Linked DNA regions of Homo sapiens: all the other regions are linked to region 3. Evidence: promoter capture Hi-C in human tissues and cell types (Jung and others, 2019). All regions are on one chromosome and are shown on one strand. Each heading gives the region's core, a stretch centred on a gene start or on the middle of the fragment in contact. The rest is flanking DNA. Distances are from core to core; before and after follow the strand shown. Region 1 overlaps CFAP418-AS1 (CFAP418 antisense RNA 1). Region 2 overlaps CFAP418-AS1 (CFAP418 antisense RNA 1). Region 3 holds the start of GDF6 (growth differentiation factor 6).

Region 1 (3,684 bases), core at 637-3,136, 410 kb after region 3:
GAGAGGCTTTCCTCAACAGACCAAAACTAAGGATCTTTCATCACTAGGCAGTCAGAATAGAGAACCAAAAGGACAAAGCAAAGCATCAATTAAAATCTCATCCCTCTGTCCAGGGTTTGTGATAAATACATCAATTTCTTGCTCTCTCCTTTGGGATCCAAGTCTTTGAAATAGCTTATGGCTGGGTGGAACTCCCTCTGGTAGGTGGATGAGTGTTCAATACATTTGTGATGCTGAGACATTTATCTTCATTGCCTTAATAATTAAGCATCTAAGTCAAACTTCTGGTTTGACTTCTGACCCCTGTGTTTATTGACATTCCCATTCAAACACTTAGTTTGAGCTCCTGATTAGTTTGAGACCAGCCTGGCCAACATGGTGAAACCCCATCTCTACTAAATATACAAAAATTAGCCTGTCATGGTGACATGAGCCTGTAATCCCACCTAATCGGGAGGCTGAGGCAGGAGAATCGCTTGAACTCAGGAGGCAAAGGTTGCAGTGAGCCAAGCTTGTGCCACTGTACTCCAGCCTGGGTGACTGAGAGAGACACTGACTCAAAAAAAGAAAAAAAAAAGGCTTGAATTAATACGACTAAGTTTGCCTCACATTCACATCTGCAGGCAGAGTTCCCTCCATAGAGAATGGGAAGTTTGTCCTAGAGATCAATTATTCAGATGTACAGCTTGTATTCTGGGGGTATTCTGTCATTCAAAAAATATTTGTTGAGCACCTACTATGTGCTGGGTACTATTCTGGACATAAGCAATACAATGAGGAGCAAAACAGATTCTCTGCTTTCATGAAGTTTAAAATCTAGTGGAGTAAATCAATATTAATCAAGTTAACATATCAACATATAATTAAAAACTGTGCAAGGGTCTTGGTGAGCAGAAATTCTTTCAATTTGTATTGTTGCAGAAGGGCCCTCTCTAATCAGACATTCATTATGTCTCTCTTACCTGTCCATGGCAACTTCTTGGAATACCCTTCTGCTTCTCTTTGTCTTCTCAGGAGTTTTTCATTGCTGGTACTTACTTACTTAGATGGTGTTTTTTATCAGACAGTGGCAGGAACCCTCCCTCTAAATACAGTGAAACAAAATCATCATTTGCCTCAGATGAGCATGGGCCAGGAGTTTTCCATTTCCCTTTTAGCCAGAGTACACAAGAGCACCTACTTATGAAGGCACTGAAAAATTGCTCTGCCCTCCTGGCAAGATACAAATGGAGAGACTGAGATGGAGAGATATCATAAGGCTTATTGTATGATGGCCTCAAGAGTTAGTTATTGGTACCAAATTCCAGAAAACTTGGACTGGAGCTTTAACTCAGCTAGACCACAAGAAGAGTTGGTAAGAGATTTCAAGCTTCTCCAGGGAAACAAAGATACATGGATCGGTTTTAGAGATGGGGTTGTCTCCCAAACAGTAATCAGATTCCTCTCTTGCATCCCACAATCTCGCAGGTGTAAACCACATGAACAAATATGTGCTTGGGGTGAGGGTAGGGGTGGTGGGGGAGGTGATGACAGTTTCGACTTCATAATGCATCATCTCAGGTGGCAGCTGTGCATCTGTTACATATTTTGAAACCTCCCTCTCATACCAGTAGAGCTATTTCAGCAGATAATATCTCGAATTGACTAAAGAAAAATCATATGTTACCCAATGTCCTGAAATGGCTCAAGAAGATGGATAAGGGGAAGGTGTTGGGGTTGAAACTTGTATTTTACCTCCTGACTCTTAAAATCATTGGGATGGCAGCTTTGATTCAGTCTTGGAAACTGGACTTAATTAGTGGGAGCCAGCCCTCTATGGGGGAGCTCTCGGACAGGCACTTTGGGTCCCTGCCTCCCCAAGCTCCCTCTCAAGGATAGGGATTTGAACAGTTGCAGCCCCTGGGGCCCCTACAAAATACTTCCAGCACACATGCGGCTAAAAGCGATAATCCCAACACGTTTTGCAGGAAGAAAAATTGTGCTGGGAACAGCGAGTCAAGCATTTGCTGAGTTTTAGTAGGAGGTGTGAAAAATATGTAACTCTACTCAGGGTCATTCCCCTTGGCCTCACTGCTAGCCACAGCGTGTGTGAGGGGCGGCAGAGGCAGCGCCAAGCTCCCATCCATCTTTCTGTGGCCCCATTAATCTCTTCTCTTCCTGAAAACCAACTTATCTTGCAGTTGGTTTAAAAACCTCCCAGCCCTGCACATAGGGGCTGCTGCAAGCGCTGATGGGCCTCTGTGCTAATTAGAAAAAGACGGTCCCTCTGGGAGGGACCCTTGCAGAAAGACGCCCCCTCTGGGCAGGCCAGTTAGTGAAGAGGCGCCTTCTTTCAGGCGAACTCAGGCCTGTGCTGGGGCTCACGGCTCAGCAATCAGAGTACATCCTGGATTTTAGGCCCCCAAAGATTTCCCTCAGCTGGGCCCCACTGTGTCCAGTGGCCGGCAACAAAGCATCCTTTGTGGCTCACAAAATCGACACTGACTAGTCTCCATAGTTGGAATGCGCTTGGAATCCTAACCAAGTTCTCTTGCTTACGCATGTATTCTTAATTCTCTGCATTTAACAAACACTGTGCAGGCAGAGTCCCCTCAGAGATATTGACAAACATCACCATGGGACAGATGAACTGATGGAAACAGGCAACAACATTGGTTTCATTGCACTGTCCTGTTCAAGGAAGTAATTACCGGCTCTTTAGACACAAATCTTGGACACAAACACTGCCTAGGTACTCTTTTCTTTTTTTTCTTTTCTTTCTTTCTGTCTTTCTTAGAGACAAGGTCTCACTCTGTTGTCCAAGCTGAGTGGAGTGGCACAATCACTGCTCACCGCAGTCTCAACCTCACGTGCTTAAGCAATTCTTCTGCCTCAGCCTCCTGAGTAGCTTGGGACTACAGGCATGCACCATGACGCCCAGATAATTTTTTATTTTTTGTGGAGATGACATCTCACTATATTGCCCGGGCTGGTCTTGAACTCCTGGACTCAAGTGATCCTTCTACTTTGGCCTCCCAAAATGCTGGGATTACAGGCGTGAGCCACCACACTTGGCCAGCCTAGGTACTCTTTCCTCCATGACTTTTTCTCCAACATTTTCTTTCCCTCTGATGAGTAGGCTGCAGGTTTAGTCTTATATTTCCTCTGATATTGGGAACAATTTTCTGTCTTGTTTCTCTTTGTCATTAGTTCAAGGTTGTTTCTGATTTTCGTAAGCCATTTTGTCACATTTTGTCTGTCCTTTACCTATGCAACCTGCCCTATGACTTCACCCATCAATGATAATAGATACAATAACACTAATAGCAAGAATTGGTTGAGAAGTCCCCATATGCCATGTGCTATTCTATGTGCTTCCTGTGTATTAACTCATTTAACTTGTCATAGAAGTCTTATGAGGATAGTAGTAGTATTATTCCTGTTTTAAGATGTGGTAACTGAGCCAAAAAATAAAAAAGTTAACTAATTTGCCAAGGGAGCAGTGGAGCCAGGGTTTGAGCCCAAGCAGTGTGGCTCTAGAGCTCATGTGCTCCACCACTGTGCTATGGAGACTCCATCTATTCATTTGTGAGTGCTATGTCCATCTCTCTACTCATCCTCATAGCTATTGCTTCATCTATTCATTTGTCCTACAAACATGTATTGAATAGCCATACCCCAAGCTCATGCTCAGTACTAAGACTG
Region 2 (3,271 bases), core at 118-2,617, 500 kb after region 3:
ACTAATAAGATCCTGTTCTGAGGTTACATGTAGACATGAATTTTGGGGGTACACCATTCAACACACTATAAGTAGATAACAGCAATAGCACTGGAATAGATCCTTAGGGGCCCTCTTATGTGCCCATTTTACACCTTAGTCATTGTATTGTGGGTCCATGAGCCAGGCATGCAGGAAGCATGTAGAAGCTGGAAAAGGCAAGAAGGACAAATTATCTCCTAGAGCCCTTGGAAGGAACGCAGTCCTGCTGACACCTTGATTTTAGCCCCATGAGACCCATCTCAGACTTCTGAGCTCCAGAGTCATAAGAATAAATCTGGATTATTTTAAGCTACTAAAATTTGTGGTAAATTGTTACAGCAGAAATAGTAAACTCACACAATAAAAAAACTTAAGCCAGTTGAGGTCCATTTTGCTGTCACTAAACTAAAAGAATCTTAACTAATACACTGCTGAAATCACATAATTTACAGGTAACAAATAAACCACCTACTGATTGATATCTTCTCCACTTTCCTCCCATGATGCTCTTTCAAAGATTTTGGCTAACGAAGGCTCTGCAGAATCATGAAGCAAATGAGAAAGATGATAGAGCTACCTTGGCGGTGAAGCAGATATATTGAGAAGGTAAGGAATTTACTGTATAGAAAAAAGAGTAGTTCATCCAAAGGCAGACAGGAGAAAAGAACAAGAAGCTGGGAAAGAAAGGGTATGTGAGGGGTGATAATACATCACTTTGAATGACATAAATGTTATGTCAGCATTGTAGAATAGTTTTAATAATAATCATTTCCCTTAGTGATATCATCACAACATTTTGGCAAAAAAGTCATAACTCCATCTCATCAATGAGCATTTTCAGTATCAAAGAGGTTAAGAAACTTGCTCAAGTATATAGATAGCTAACAAGGGACAGCTTAGATTCAATCACAGCCTAACCCCAAAGTCTGTAGACTTAACAACTTGTTATGCTGTCAACATAAACACATGTTCCCAAGCTTTCTAACCTCCAACCACTAGATTCTCACATATGCACACAGAGTTCAATGATAATGATGTATCTTTCCATGTTCTGTTCACTGAGTTGCGATTAAGGAAGCACATGTGCTTTAGGGAAGATAAACTTTGGCCAGTGGTTTGACCTCCTTCTTGCCTCCGTTCCCAGATTTGCTATGTATAGCTGTGTGGCCTTGAACAGGTCACTCCACCTGTCTGGATTTCTACCTGTTGTTCTCTCAGGAGAATGAACTTGGGGATTGTAAAACTCTTGCAAGTTGTCGTATCCTTGGTGTTTTCATCTAGCAAAGCTGAGGAATTTGAACACCTGGATGAAGTGTTTACATTTCCCAGAGTAGATAGTAGCTCCTGAACAGGGATATGATAAACCATCTGAAAAGATTAATCAGCAGTTGAGCATAAACATGAACAGGTAGATGCCAGAGGCAGGAAGATGACAGAGGAAGTCATTGGATTCCACTCATATTTTCTTCATTGAGATAATCACATGCGACAAAGAAAGCTTTCCACTGTAGCACCTCTGTATACCTGACGGCTCTCTCATTCTAGCAACTCAGAGTACAAACGTTTACATGCACTCAGGTGCTATGAGTATCTGGGAAAGGTTTCATGTTGAAACGCTGGCCTTTAGCCACCTGGGTGAGAAAGACTAAGCTGGCATTAGCACTGCCTATTGGCAGCCAGGATAAGTTCTCAGGTTGAAAGAGTGGGCCACAGGCAGGGTGGAGAAGGAAGGGAAAGTGGAGGGTGCAAAGGTAGATTCCTGGGAGCCATGAACAAAGGCGCCAAGGCAGGGAGCCAGGTATATCACTCCCACCTGTAAGGACATGGCAGGGAGACAGGGACACAGCATGGCAGGCATTCTCTCAGCTGCTGCTTCTGAGCCAAACCCTTCTTCTGTTTCGCAGATGAGAATAAAGACAACGTTGAAAACAGTCCAGGAAAATAAAAAGCCTGGACAAATAGGATAGTTTGCTGCTGTCCTTATTACTCTGCCATTGTCTTCATGATAATCAGTTCTTCATGGCTTCTTCATGCCTCTAATCAACAGACTTACTTGTGGACATACAAAACCAAGAATCTAGTCCAGTAAATTTGAGGGGCTTCTTGGTACCTCACCACAACTACCTTCTGTTAATTAATGTGCAAATCTTTGAAGAAATTATTTGAAACACTTGTAAAAGTTATGATTGGGAAAAATAAACAGTAAAAAAAAGGGAGGGAATTTTGAGTTTATGTTGAAGTCACTAACTACAATGAGATGAAAAAAATAAGTTAACCATTAAATAGGTGGGGGAAGCAGTGGGTATTTGGGTCGCCATGGATCAGCTATCAGCTATTGTCAGTCAAGAACCTCCAAGCTGATGATACACTGCGTGAGTTGACATTGTAAGTCTACAGAGTTGAGGTACTCTCACATTGGCCATTCCCTGGGTCAACGAAATCTCTGCAAAAAAAATATCTAACAAATATTTATTGAGTCCTTGCACAGTGCATGGCACTGTCATGGGAGCTGTGGGGCAATGCAAAGATTAAAAAACAGAAAACAAAAAACTTGTTCCTAGAACTCAAGAGATTTACAACTGTTGGAGATGATCTTTGCTTTCCCTAAGGAATTCACGTGTATTTTCTTTATGGGCATATATAGGAAACAGGTAATTATTATTTGTTTTGCTCTGACCACTAGAAACATTTAAGTTCACCTTTGATAAATGTCAGATCTTCTGGCCTACAAATCTGTTTTAATTTCCCCACCTGTCTCGTAGATTTTTTTTTAAATTTCAACTTTTATTTTAGATATAGGAGGTACATGTGCAGATTTGTTACATGAGAATAGTGAGTGATATTGAGGTTTGGAGTATGGATCCCATTACCCAGTTAGTGAGCATAGTACCCAACAGGTAGTTTTGGGTATATACCAACCTGTTTCCCTCCACCCTCTAGTAGGCCGCAGTTTCTAGTGTTCCAATATTTTTGTGTATATGTGCTCACTGTTCAGCTCCCTCTTATCAATGAGAACATGCAATTTTTAGTTTTCTGTTCCTGCATTCATTTGCTTAAGATTATAGCCTCCAGCCCCATCCATGTTACTGCAAAGGACATGATTCCATTATTTTTTATGGTTGTATATTGTTTCATGGTATAAATATCCCATATTTTCTTTATTCAGTCTACCACTGATGGGCACTTGGGTTGATTCCATGTCTTTGCTATTGTGAATAGCCTAGGAATGAACATACAACTTCAGGTGTCT
Region 3 (3,384 bases), core at 617-3,116:
GATTAAGTAAAATAATATTGGCGAAGGGCTTCAAACCATGACTGACACACAAGTTCTCTGTGGGTGCTTGCCATTACCTGGAGGAGGCCAGTGTCCAGGGTGGAGGGCATATCCCAGACCTTAAGGAAGTTAAAGGATGAGGGGAGCAGCGCAGCAAAACTCCCTCCCCCTGCAGGCTGTCATGTGAGTGGTCCCTGCAGGACAGAAGAGGTGATGAAAAAGCAAAAGGAAGAAGGGGTTAGAAAGTGAGAGGGAGGAGATTGGAGAGACTGGGAACACACACAGAAAGTAGCATGGCGGAGAAAGAAGCCACCTGAGATCAAGTGAAACCATAAAGAGAAGAAAAAAGCCAGAACTGAAATAGAGAAGTTGGGCCAGGAATGACTGTCTATGCTGTAGTGGGAAGAATCTTGGGCTTGGGGTGGGAGCCTGGGTTCTGTCCCTTGCTGCATAACCTCTTGGCAGAGTGGCCTTGGAAAAGTCACTTATTTCCATTGAGTCTTTTTTTTTTCCATCCGTGAAGGTGAAAATAGTCAACGCCAACCTCACAAAGCTGTTGGCACGATTAAAGGAGGGTACTTTATGGTTGGTGCCTGAGCACCCAATCAGTACTGAGGGAAACTCTTCTGCCCATAGCAGTCCAGGGCAGAGCACTGTGGCAGACAGAAGCAGCGCTACGCCGCATCGCCTTTCAGCGTGCAGGCCCAGGAATGAGCGAGGCAGTGGGCGGGGAAGACAGGCACGGGGAATCTGGGGACAGATAAAGGAAACTCGTGATGGGGCGAGGCTGGGCTGAAGAGAAACAGATTGGGGTAGAGCTGCAAAGGGAGGGGTCCACTGGAAGGCGAGGGGGGAGGCCGGGAAGAGAGAGGGTGGGAAGGCAGTGTGAGATGGGAGGGCAGTGTGAGAAGAAAAGCAGGCTGGGGAAGAGGGATTGGAATGCAGAAGGAACTTGGGGAAGGAGGAAGTCCTGCAGGCGGGAGGGAAAGAAGAGAGGGAAAATGGGGATGCAGTGGAGGCGGGGGGCAGGCCGCGAGAGGGAGAGGATCCCGGGAGCAGACGAAGAAGTGGAGCAGCTAAAGTCTGCGTCAGAAGAGGTTGGGGACTGCGAGAGGAGAGGCTGGGGCCTGCAGGGGAGCGCAGCAGCTTTTAGCATCGATCCAAACTCTAAAGACTCGTGGCCTTTGCCTGACCTCGAGGGTCGGGAATAGACGCCTGTCTTTGTGGAGAGCGATACCCAACCGAGAAAATGGGGCTGTTCCGAGCTGGGCCCTGCGCCTGGCCCAGGGCGAGGCTTCTCTGGCTCCGGGCTGGCCCCTGAGGGGCGCAAACGGCAGGCCTGGCGGTTGGGGCCGAGGAGGGAGGGTACCACCGCCCCGAGGCAGCACGCAGCCTGCAGCAGAGGCGCCTGCTCCAAGCTGTCTCTTGGGGGCGCCGCCGCCGCTTCCCTCCTCCGGGGCCGCTCGCTCCCAGGAAAGTGGAGGCGGCTGGCGAGGACCGAGAGCCGGGGCCGCGCTGCGGAGGGACCACACCTCCGGGAGTTCGAGGGGGACCCTGGCGCGGCGGGCCAGCCTTTGCTCCCCGGCCACGGGCCGGCAGCGCCCGCCTTCCCCCGGTCAGCGCTTGCGGCCCGCGCCGCGCGCACCGCCCGGCAACCCCGCGCGCGTCCCGCGGGGGCGCTGCGTCTTCCTGCCACACCGGCGCACCGCGGCCCCTCTCCCCCACACCTCCGGCCCGCACCACCCGGCTCTCCTCCCACCCTCCCCACCCCTCCTCTGCCCTCCCTCCCCATTCCTCCCCTCCCGGCGAGGGGCGGGAGGGGGCGTGGCGGGGCCGGGGTTTGTGTGGCTGGGACCCGGCTCCTCGCACTCCGAGTCCGCCCGAGGAGCCGGGCCCCGGCCGCTGTCCAGCCGCTCCGTGCCCCGCGCGTCCTGCGCCGCCGCCACCGCCTCCTGGGGAGACGCAGCCACTTGCCCGCCATGGATACTCCCAGGGTCCTGCTCTCGGCCGTCTTCCTCATCAGTTTTCTGTGGGATTTGCCCGGTTTCCAGCAGGCTTCCATCTCATCCTCCTCGTCGTCCGCCGAGCTGGGTTCCACCAAGGGCATGCGAAGCCGCAAGGAAGGCAAGATGCAGCGGGCGCCGCGCGACAGTGACGCGGGCCGGGAGGGCCAGGAACCACAGCCGCGGCCTCAGGACGAACCCCGGGCTCAGCAGCCCCGGGCGCAGGAGCCGCCAGGCAGGGGTCCGCGCGTGGTGCCCCACGAGTACATGCTGTCAATCTACAGGACTTACTCCATCGCTGAGAAGCTGGGCATCAATGCCAGCTTTTTCCAGTCTTCCAAGTCGGCTAATACGATCACCAGCTTTGTAGACAGGGGACTAGGTAAGTGGCAAAGAAAACGCTCGACTCCCCTCCCGCTGGAGCTCGGCAGCCAGGGAGCTGTTCCCGCTGGAGGCTACATTTGTGAATTCCCTTCCTGCTCTGGACACTTCCTTTTTACTTTTCTTAAATTGTTTTTCTCAAGCTCGAGTAAGTTTCTGAATGTGGCTGCGGATTCTATTCCAGTCTCTAAACCTCCCTTCCTTTCCCCCCCTTTCTTTCTCTCTCCCTTCTTTCCTTCTTCCTCTTTTGCAGAAGGCAGCGTGGTTGCCGCTTGTTGGTGGCTGGTGGGGGAAACGTGGAGGACGGGAGGCAGCAGGCGGATGAACCCGGCTGGAGAGGGGTCGGGATGGGGACTGATGGAATCGGTGTCTCGGGATACTGGGTTCGCAGTCCAAGGCCTGAGCTGCTGGGGCAGATCTAGGGCATGAGACAGCCTTGGAAAGCCCTGGGCAAAGCCGGCACTAGGGAGTCCCACAGTCTGAGGAACTAGTCCGCGAGCGGCGTCGGGCAGCCCCCTGGTCCTGGCGCCGCGCGGGTTTTCCGTTGGTCCCTGCGCTGGGTGGGATGGTCAGCCGGGCTGGAGCCCTGCGCCCTCCGGCTTTTTTGCTCCAGCGTGGTGCTCCCGGCTGCTCCGAGGCCTCAACACGAGTGGTTTCTGCAGATGCGGCGGCAGCAGTTGGGCGGGCCGGGACAGGGACGGCTAAGTTCGGAGGTTGTGGGTACTTAATACACAAAGGTACATGGGTATGCCCATCCACCTTTCTCAGCCAGGCGACGTTCCTCTCTCTACGCTATTCCTGAGGGCTGGTGGGGGTCTGGGAAATCCCTGGTACCCTCTGTGGGAACGCCTGCATGTGTGGGTGTCTGCGGAAACCCTTGCGGCCCCTTCTTGCCACCGGCGTTGATCTGCAGCGTGGCCAGTGCCCTCAAGAAAACCTCGCACCACCTCTGGTCCCAGAAATCAGGGAAGGATCCACAGGCATCGGAAACTAAGCTCCT

The links. Contacts are between HindIII fragments. The study calls those that stand out against the background at their distance.
Region 1: a fragment that was not itself captured here is called in contact with the fragment with the promoter of GDF6 in region 3 in 1 of the 25 tissues and cell types used here (mesenchymal stem cells).
Region 2: a contact is called between a fragment that was not itself captured here and the fragment with the promoter of GDF6 in region 3, in 1 of the 25 tissues and cell types used here (lymphoblastoid cells).

Annotation. Positions count from the first base shown.
Region 1 is chr8:95,750,887-95,754,570 of GRCh38, reverse strand. All of the region lies in intron 3 of CFAP418-AS1 (CFAP418 antisense RNA 1), which reads right to left. Among named protein-coding and RNA genes, the nearest start is that of GDF6, 410 kb to the left of the region's middle. The HindIII fragment of the contact is 3,378 bases long and covers 198-3,575 here.
Region 2 is chr8:95,657,422-95,660,692 of GRCh38, reverse strand. The region is part of intron 3 of CFAP418-AS1 (CFAP418 antisense RNA 1); the gene reads right to left. Among named protein-coding and RNA genes, the nearest start is that of TRS-AGA2-5, 390 kb to the right of the region's middle. The HindIII fragment of the contact is 4,595 bases long and covers 1-3,271 here.
Region 3 is chr8:96,159,288-96,162,671 of GRCh38, reverse strand. It overlaps GDF6 (growth differentiation factor 6), which reads left to right and starts at 1,866. Exons shown (of 2, transcript NM_001001557.4): 1 at 1,866-2,385. The coding sequence starts at 1,980. The HindIII fragment of the contact is 22,921 bases long and covers 1-3,384 here.